Linked DNA regions of Homo sapiens: regions 1 and 3 are each linked to region 2. The links are contacts of gene promoters, found by promoter capture Hi-C in blood cells and fetal thymus (Javierre and others, 2016). All regions are on one chromosome and are shown on one strand. Each heading gives the region's core, a stretch centred on a gene start or on the middle of the fragment in contact. The rest is flanking DNA. Distances are from core to core; before and after follow the strand shown.

Evidence for each region. The method cuts DNA at HindIII sites, captures the fragments that hold promoters and counts their contacts. A CHiCAGO score of 5 or more calls a contact.
Region 1: a fragment that was not itself captured here is called in contact with the fragment with the promoter of CDKN2AIPNL in region 2 in 1 of 17 cell types (M1 macrophages); the score reaches 5.5 in M1 macrophages.
Region 3: a fragment that was not itself captured here is called in contact with the fragment with the promoter of CDKN2AIPNL in region 2 in 3 of 17 cell types (endothelial precursors, activated CD4 T cells and naive B cells); the score reaches 6.8 in endothelial precursors.

Annotation. Positions count from the first base shown.
Region 1 is chr5:134,607,702-134,610,816 of GRCh38, forward strand. SAR1B (secretion associated Ras related GTPase 1B) reads right to left here. Exons shown (of 7, transcript NM_016103.4): 5 at 1,870-1,973; 6 at 671-802. Among named protein-coding and RNA genes, the nearest start is that of SAR1B, 24 kb to the right of the region's middle. The HindIII fragment of the contact is 2,044 bases long and covers 422-2,465 here.
Region 2 is chr5:134,410,346-134,413,696 of GRCh38, forward strand. CDKN2AIPNL (CDKN2A interacting protein N-terminal like) reads right to left here and starts at 1,536. Exons shown (of 3, transcript NM_080656.3): 1 at 1,271-1,536. The coding sequence starts at 1,509. RefSeq lists enhancers at 928-1,666, 1,190-1,679, 1,667-2,404. The HindIII fragment of the contact is 16,822 bases long and covers 853-3,351 here.
Region 3 is chr5:134,590,681-134,594,098 of GRCh38, forward strand. No RefSeq gene overlaps it. Among named protein-coding and RNA genes, the nearest start is that of SAR1B, 40 kb to the right of the region's middle. RefSeq lists enhancers at 859-918, 1,739-2,332. The HindIII fragment of the contact is 1,068 bases long and covers 717-1,784 here.

The DNA.
Region 1 (3,115 bases), core at 194-2,693, 200 kb after region 2:
GCAGAGGTTGCAATGAGCCGAGATTGCACCATTGTACTCCAGCCTGGGCAACAAGAGCAAAACTCCATCTCAAAAAAAAAAAAAAAGAGCCTCCTGCTATATGCTGCAGTATTTCTCCACCCTGAAATAGTATATGTAAACTAAAAAAATTTTGTAAATCTCTGGGGTTCTTCCACTGTTTATCTGGATTTTTTCAATGCTGATGTTTCCCCCAAAATAAATCCTAGGAAAAGTGAATACCAAAACAATCCGTCTTAAAGCTTATTATAAAGTATATGTTCAGAAAACCGTAAAATATTCCAAGTTTATGTCTTATTTATCTCTGGTAAACTCAGGGCCTAAACACACTACTGGTATACTTAAACACTCAAATATATCGTTTGGTGGCTAATTCTGAAAATGTATGATAAATAACTTTGAAAGCTTTAATTTAGTTTCCTATAAGCACAAGCCTTAGGCATAACTCATCCTTGACATTTTTGTTGTCACCAAGAAAATGTTTCATTCCATGGTAGAAAGAAATGAGGACATTAAAAAGACCCACAGGTATAAATGACAGTTTTCTTTAAGAAAATGATAATGGGCTTGTATAGTTGGACAATAGTAATTTAAGAAGACATTTGTACTGTAGAATTAAACACACCCATCATAATTTTTTTTTTTTTTTTACCTTTCCTGTTGTCTGACCATATAAACCAAACATCTCTCGCAACCTCTCTTCACTGATGGCTTCAGGTCTGTCGATCTTATTCCCAAGAATCAGTATAGGCACATTAGCAATGGTTTCATCTGTCATTAGTGACTGAAAAAAACAAAACAATACAAAACAAGAGTTGATATGAAACCATCCAAAGAGCTTATTTTGATATGATAAAACAATAAAGGACTCATTTTCTACCATATCATGTCATACCAACGTTCTTTGTCAAACTTTCCCCACATTTTAAAGTGACCTCAATGAAACCATAAGCTAAATTCTTCTGTCTTCCTAAGGCTCTTCCTGTAAATGTTTACTCTGCTCATCCTTTAAAGGAGTGACATAGAACGTATAGAGCCAGCACCTTAGAAGTGAACAGATGTGGTTTCACTTCTGGCTCTACTGCTTTTGAGATGTGACTTTGGGCAAGTTAGCCTGACTGAAGCTCTAGAGAGAATTAGGAACAGTAGCATCCACCCTATGAAATTGAGAATTAAATCAAGTAATACGCACAGTCTCTGGAACAAAGTAGGAACTCAGGCATTCTCTGTCCTTGTTTTGTAACCATAGAACCTACCTGGACTTTTCCACACGTACAAGTATTTGTTTGCCTGCTCTGGGCAGAGCCATGGTATGATCAACCTTCAATCAAATCATGGACCTGCTTACTCTGTGGCCCCAGATCTGGTGCTGACCTTGCCTGCTGCTGTTGGGCCCCTTTACAAAATATCTGACCTGGGATACTGGAGGGGAGGTAGCTACATATGCCTCTGCTCACTCCTGGGAGTAGTGTCAAAGATGGCATGTCCTATCATTTCCAGGCTGTGGCTTAAGATATAGCATCTTAGCATGACCAGGGACTCAAGATCAACCCACTCCAGGAATATAACAGACATGAAATATACTAAAAGGGTACATTCTGTACAGGGTGAGCTTCTTAAGTCTTCATAAAAGATGTCTGTGTTAGTACTTCCTCAATAGCTACAATTACTCAGTTACTCCCTCTGCATTCTAAGTAATCACTACTTAAAGCAATCACTGAGCTCAACAAATTGCCAAGAGTTTCATCAGAGACTGCAGAAAAGCTGCACTCTGATACCTGTATCTCTGACCTACTTCTGCAGGCTTACCAGAGTGATTTGACTATATTTAGTTTCAGTTATTTAACTTACATCAAGTTCTTCTTTTGACTCTAACAGCCTTTCGTGGTCTGCACAATCCACCAGAAATACAATGCCATTGATAGCAGGAAGGTAGTTTTTCCACACTCTTCGAGCTAACAAAAACAATCAGGGGTTAGAGTTTACTTGTTGGTCAAACCCAGCAGATGGTTTAAGCAAAGAGTCCAACCAGATATCAAGTGCGGTAATCCCTTAGCTGCTGGTACTTCACAATATATTCAAGTTAATCTTTTACCCAGTGGTGCCAAATTCTTCTGAGAATAACTAAGAGGGAATTTCAGGCTTTCCTTGACTGTGGGCAAGTCAAATACTTTAGTCTCTTCCAATTATCATATGTAAGGAGTAGAATATTTAAAATAAAAATAAAAATAAAAAAAAATACACGTTAAGTTCATTGGAGGACTGCTACTAGATCTAAAATATAAGCAGTAAAAAAACTACATATATGTGATTATATATACATAAAATGTGTGTATTTATATTACATATATATGCAGTGTTCATTTTTTGACATTTCTAGTTATCAGATTTTTTTTGCCAGTGATAAATTTGGAATGAGTGACAGAAGGAAATTAATATCAGGTACAAGCTTGTTAAAATAATAAGGCCGGGTGTGGTGGCTCACACTTGTAATCCCAGCACTTTGGAAGGCCAAGGCAGGTGGATTGCTTGAGCTCAGGAGTTCAAGACCAGCCTGGACAACATAGTGAAACCTCATCTCTACAAAAAAACACAAAAAATTAGCCAAGCCGGACACAGTGGCTCATGCCTGTAATCCCAGCACTTTGGGAGGCTGAGGCAGGTGGATCACCTGAGGTCAGGAGTTGGAGACCAACCTGGCCAACATAGTGAAACCCTGTGTCTCTACTAAAAATACAAAAATTAGCCAGGCTTGGAGAATCACCTGAACCCGGGAGGTGGAGGTGGCAGTGAGCCGAGATCATGCCACTGCACTCCAGCCTGGGTGACAGAGAGAGACTCCGTCTCAAAAAAAAAAAAAAAAAAAAAAAAAAATTAGAAAGTGTGGTGGTGTGTGCCTGCCCAGCTACTTGGGAGGCTGAGGTGGGAGGATGGAGCCCAGGAGGCAGAGGCTGCAGTAAGCCAAGATCATGCCACTGCACTCCAGCCTGGGAGACAGAACCAGACTCTGTTTCAAAAAAAATAATTAAAAAAAAACCAAAACAAAATTGTTTTACTCAGAAAAGAAGCTCAAATGTTAATAATTAACTGAAGTCTA
Region 2 (3,351 bases), core at 286-2,785:
GCTGGTCTCCAACTCCTGACCTCAAGTGATCCTCCTCCCAAAGTGCTAGGATTACTGGCGTGAGACACCGTGCCTGGCCCTGTGAACACTTCTTGCTTGTAGATACAGAAGTGGACTTCAGAAATACCAGTACAGCAGATGTTTCAAGATTTAGAAGAACAGAGGCACTGTACATCCAGCAACAGATATTCTCAGATACAGGATGAGGACCAAAATATTTTTATTTTTTAAATACATGGAATGTTAGTCTAACAAAAACATTATTTATTTCCCCAATTCTCTGACATTTGCCTAACCATGGAAAACCAGGATTTCCCAGGAGCACCTAGAAGGCAGGGAAAAGGGACGGGTGCCTCTGGCATTGCTTCCCTACGTACTGTTCTAATAAACCCCAATATGTGAAGCAAAACCAAGTGGCTTAGGCCTGCAGGGGCCAAATGACCAGAGTCAGGCAGCCATAATAGGTATAGAAACCAAGATCAAACCAAGTCACCCTATTTTCCTAACACAATTTCAGGAAAATCGAAGCTCTCTAATAGGGAGTCTCAAGATTTGCCACCTTCCTCATGGAGGGGTGAAAGGAATGCCTTATCAGGCACTTCAAAAGCGGGCCTTTGTCCTTTTGGTGCTGCAGCCAGGATGAAGTGGGCTTTGAGACCTTCACAAAAAGGCATCGGCCATTTTCATAAGAGGGAAAGCAGAGAGGTGAAGCTGGTTCCTACTTAGGACCCCGTGGGCTGTGGAGTGAGGAGAAAAAGCCATAGGATACAGATTACATCCTCTCATTAGTGATTAAAATCCATCAATCCTGCCAGAAGCTGCATGGCCCCAGGTATATCACTTCTCTCCCTAAGCTTTTTCATCTGTAAAATGGGGATCTCCGTTTCTCTCTCTGCACGTTTGCCATGTAGGTGACAGGGGCTAACGGACTTCGAATGCATACTGCAAAGGTGATGGTTTGAGCTAATAATAATAGTAATACAAATAACAATAGCAACCTTTGAACCCGCCATGTATTTAGCTCTTCACCCTTTAATTATTACAGCCATCATAACCACCCTTTTACCAGAAGAGAAAACTGAGGCTCAAAGATAAGGATCTTTCCAAGGGGCCTCCAGGGTGGGAATCAGTCTTCGGGCCGACCAATGCGGATGGAGGTTGGGCCCGGGTTCAGTCTGGGGCAGAGGTTCGGGTCAGGGGTGAGCCCTGGGAGAGGCCTTGAGGGTCGGAAGATAGGGGACAGGATCAGCCGGCCGGCAGGGGTCCGCACCTGCAGCCTAGGAAGAGATGGTTGGCCCAGACCATGGAGAGGGAGAGCAGCTGGTCCAGGCGGCCACTGCCGTCGGGCGGGTCGCGGTAGTCGGGCAGGTGGCGCAGGATGAATTCCATGCGGGCCTTCCATTGCTTCTCGCTCTCTGAGTAGGAGCGGAACTGCTCCGCGAAGTCGGCCGCCTGCCGCACCCCCGAAACCAGCTCCTCCACTGCGGCAGCCGCCTCGCCACCGACCATGGTGCCCGCCGCAGCCGAGGACCGGATAGCCCGCCGCCTTCCCGACGCGCACTGCGCCACCGCCTGCCGGCCAGAGGGGCCCCATCAGCGCACGACTGCTCCAGAAGACCAACCTGGAGCGCCCTCGCCCGGAGCGGCGGCCTGCGGGGGCACAGAGCGGCTCCTGGCTCCTCAGACCGCCGCAGCCCGTGGCTCCTGCCCTGGGTCTACCCAGGGCTACAAGGGTCTTTTGCGGTCGACCCTGCGGGGAACCGGTGGGAAAACTGAGGTCCCTAAACACAGATTCGGAGCGCCCTCTTCCAGTTGGCAGCTGGATGCCAGCCAGAGCTATGCTGTGCCCTTGCCCTGAGAGTTTCCCGGGCACCGCCTCATCCTGAGCGACATCAGGGGGCCCGGGTCACGGTCGACTTCCAGGGGTCTCCACAGCCACGAAGGTTGGGGCCCGCCTTCCTGGAGCGAGTAATCCATCCATCCCGTGAATACTTGCCAGGCACATTGCTAGGTGCTGGAGAGGCAATGAGAGCACATTCGGAGCCCTGCTCGCCTGAACTTTACCATGGAGTGGAGGAGTGGACATTAGTGACATAATTGCTCAAGTAAATGGAGAATTTCAGCGTTGACAAGTATTAGTAAAGAGAAGTTCAGCGTGCTACAACCATGAATAAGCAAGGGACCCAATCTAGTCTTGGGGTCAGGGAAGTGATCCTGGAGAAGTGAAGAATGAGCAGTTTTCTGAGTAAAGGGGAGTCGGTCAAAGCAAGAGAGAGCATGGCCTGGTAAGAGAATTGCAAGATAGGGGGTAGGAGGGGTTGGGGGGCGGGGCAGGGCAGGTAGAGAATGGAGAAGATGAAGTTGCAGAGGTCAGCAAGGCCAGTAGGCCAGGCAGGGATCCTGGCTAGATCCCAAGAATGGGGAGCCGCTGAAGGATTTTAACCAGAACAGTGACACCTGTGTTTACAAAAGATGCTGGAAGGAGCCAGAAACAATGTGTCCAGAGGAAATGAGCAAGTTTGGACTTGGTTTTAAATAGAGACAGGGTTTCGCCATGTTGCCCAGGCTGGTCTCGAACTCCTGAGCTCAAGTGATCCGTCTCCCTCAGCCTCCCAAAATGCTGGGATTACAGGTATGAGCCATCGTAACTGGCTGGACCTGAAAGTTTTTATTTAGCTGGCATGACTCTGCTGTCTGTTCGAGTCTCAGGTAGCAGACACACTGAGAGAAAAAAGAGCTTCCTTTTAAGTGGTGAATTTTCCATCCCTGGAAGCATTCAACTACAGTAACTGGGTGTTGGGGCTCAGAAACCAACACCCCAAAATGTATTTTGACATGCTGAACTGATGAAGAAGCCTCAAGGTCTCTGTGACCTCCGCCACCAACACACACTCCTGTCTGTCAATTCTTTGTTCCTCCCAAAGCACAAGATGAAGTTGTTCCCTTATCTGCCTAAATTTAGTCCAGAACGCCAAAGGAAACAATTATCTCTGGTTCCCTCCCTGAGTTTTCATTAAGTGAATTTGTTTTGCAGGAGGAAAGACTGAAGTATGGTCAACACACTAGGACAGACTTTTGTCACAAACCCTTGTCTCCTCTGCAGGCCCAACAGACTTTGTCCCAGGCCATTGCATGTTCTTCAAGCCCATTGAATTACCCTAAAAATCATTTACTACCCATCTAAAATATTCACACTCTGGATGATGGGGTAATCACTCTGTGATTAACTATGCACATTAATAAACTTGTATGTCTTTTCTCTTTTTTTTTTTTTTTTGAGAGCAAATTTCACTCTTTTTGCCCAGGCTGGAGTGCAATGGTGTGATCTCTGCTCACCGCAACTTCTGCCTC
Region 3 (3,418 bases), core at 1-2,500, 180 kb after region 2:
TTCTTATTAAACTAAAAGAATTTGGTGGCTGGTGGATTAGAGCTCACGCCTGTAATCCCAGCACTTTGGGAGACCCAGGCGGGTGGATCACTTGAGGCCAGGAGTTCGAGACCAGCCTGGCCAACATGGTAAAACCCAGTCTCTACTAAAAAAAAAAAAAAGAGAGAGAGAAAGAAAGAAAGAAAAAATTAGTTGAGCATGGTGGTGTGCCTGTGGTCCCAGTTACTCTGGAGGCTGAGATGGGAGGATTGCTTGAACCCAGGAGGCAGAGTTTGCAGTGAGTGGAGATCAAGCCACTGCAATCCAGCCTGGGTGATAGGACAAGATTCTGTCTCAAAAACAAAAAAAGAATTTGGTAACACTCCTAGGTACCCTTTAAAGGCCTCCAGTTGGTTATACCCTATGACAGATTGGCCAGCAACTAATCAGAGGCTGAAGTGGATACTTGGCCCGTGGTCAATCAGAGGCTGAAGTGGAAATTTCTGTCTTGTTATCACAGGAGTGAGGATGTGGCCTGTATGCTGCCTAATCTTGCCTAGAAGTGGCTGCACCTGCTGTTCTTTTGCTTATGCCTTGATCCTTGGTGACCCTAATTCCCTATTCTCCTATCTCACCAGGGCCCTTTAACTTGAGGCCAGCTGGGTGAGGTGGGGCTAGCTGGCAGATGGGGCTGGGTGAGCCTCCATACACAACTTGGGCAGAGGAGAGAAGGAAGAAGCTTTATCCACTCAGCTTGTCACCTTTGCACCATCAGAACACCATTGTGGCGGCTGACTCATCTGTCACCAGGTGAGTGTGCCATTAGGAGCACAGGATTAGTCATGGGCGTGGTCATGGGGTGAGATGCCAGGTCGGGCTGGGATAGTGACACGGTGAAGCATGGAGCAGGGCCTAGAGGCACTGGAAGAGAAGAGGAGGCATCCCTCCTCAGGCTTGGAAGGGGGCCTAGGCCTCCCTGATAGGGATGGAGGCCTCTGTCTTTGGGATAATGCTCAAGTGGGTTGCCTCGGGTCTAGAGGTTTGTATTTAGTGGGTGGTCCCCCTTATTCTTCCCTCCATTCTCAAACTCCTGACTTTAGGTGATCCGCCCACCTCAGCCTCCCAAAGTGCTGGGATTACAGGCATGAGCCACTGCTCCCGGCCACTTCCCTCCATTCTCAATGAACATTAAGCAACATGTGGCCATTCAAGTCTAGAGAATTTATCCATGAATCCACCACGAAAGAGGAAGCTGCTAGAAATGGAATTTTGTTGTCCTTGGGGTAATGGAAAATTATTGACCTGCATTCTGGCCCTTAGTTTCCTCATTTGTTAATAAGGATGAGAGCTCCTGCTGGGCCCACCATGCAGGGTGGCTGAGAGGCTCAAAGAGGACATGGGTATGAAGTGGACAAAATGAGGAGCCACAAAAGGTGTTAGAGGAGGGCAGGACACAGTGGTACAGGAGAGCACTCACAGACTTGCTGACTGACCAGAGGCAAGGAGGCCAGAGGGATTTGTTTACCAACTCTCACTTCCCGGATTCTGAGCCGGTAAACCCTGTTTGTTTACAAGTTTTCACGGGCCTCCCTAAGCCCAACGGTGGTCTGGGGTCAGTTCCACTCTAGGGACTGGCCCGGTGCAGCCCCTAGATGGGGGCTGGTTGCAAACAGCTGATGGTCAGAGAAGCCGCTTCAGTCACATATCTGACAGTCAGCTGCCTGGGCCAAAAAACCACACAGCTCCCCAGCCTTGTGGGTTACTCAGGCCCCTTGTCAGCTCTGTGATCATCCTTCACACCTGAAAGCTTGTAACCCGAGAGGCTAGAGGTAGTTGAATAGGACATCCCTCCTGTGCCCTCACCTCACCCCTTTTGCAAAAAAGGAACATTCCATTGCTAGGGATTGAATGTTGTGATTAACATGAAACTCAGAAGAACAGCCAAGGGTTTGTAGAAGCCAAGGAGGAAAAGTGACTCAGCAAAATAAACTTTCACCTGTGGGTACTCTGAACTGCTATTTTGGGACTCTGGGAGCCTGCCTGGTTCTAGTGCCTGTTGCTTGGTATCAAAGCATTGCTCCCTAAATGCCAGCTGGAATATTCATGCCCATTCCTTACTGAAGTAGCATCCTAGGAGGCTTGGGAGGGAGGTCTGATGGATGGGCCTTATCTCTGCCACATCCAGGTAAGAGTCACAAGTGAAGCCTGGGCAACCTGGCAAAACCCCATCTCCACAAAAAGATACAAAATTAGCTGGGTGTGGTGGTGGGCATCTGTAGTCCCAGCTACTCAGGAAGCTGAGGTGGGAGGATAGTCTGAGTCCAGGAGGCTGCAGTGAGCTGTGATCATACCACTGTACCCCAGCCTGGGTGGCAGAGTGAGACCCTGTCCCAAAAAAAAAGAGTCTCAAGTGAGCCAATGTCACAGGAGAAGTAGACATGCCCCCGTAGAGGCATCGGGGATCAGAGGGGACTCTCAAGAAGAGAGTAAATCTTAGGGATTCCTCTCCCCTCCAGGAATACTTCCATCCAGTCAAGAAAGGGCATGGGATTGGCACTAACTTGCCCCGTCAATTTTAACTCCTTCATGGCCCTCATCTGAAAAGCCTCATGTGGTTTGTAGGACCTCTGAGTTTGGGGAGAGTGTGAGAGCTCATTTCATCCAATCACTATCCCATGGAGTTCCCCTCTCTAGGAGAGACTGTTTGAATTCCAACAACAGCCCATCATTTGAAAGGCAACCCACAGCTGTGTTAAAAAGGTCTCTCTTAAATTCAATTGTAATGTCTCTTTGACACCTGACATTTCTATTCACAGGTCCTCTTGAGTCCTGGAGTCATAGATGAAGTCCAATTCACTTTCACTGGGCAGTCTTTGGACTATTTCATGACAGTTAAGCTACTCTGCCCACTTGATTTTTCAAGTTCAGTACTTTCCTAGGGGATTAAAACACAGGGTATTCTCCCTTCTTCATCCATTACACTTCTGCTTAATGGATGAAACCACCATACTGCTCCACTGTTCAGGCAAAGACAGTCCCAGGTCAGAGGTTTTTTTGTTTTGCTTTATGTTTTTTTGAGACAGGGTCTTGCTTTGTTGCCCAGGCTGGAGTGAACTGGCATGACCATGGCTCACTGCAGCCTCTACCTCTCAGGCTCAAGTAATCCTCCTGCCTCAGCCTTCTCAGTAGCTGGGACCACAGGTATGCATCACTATGCCCAGCTTTTTTTTTTTTTTTTGGTAGAGATGAAGTCTTGCTATGTTGCCCAGGCTGGTCTTGAACTTCTGGCTTCAAGTGCTCCCCCAAATTTGGCCTCCCAAAGTGCTGGGGTTACATGTGTGAGCCACTGCACCCAGCCTTCTTCTTTTTCTTTCTTTTTTTTTTTTTTAAGACGGAGTCTTGCTCTGTCACCCAGGCTGGAGAGCAATGGCGTGATCTC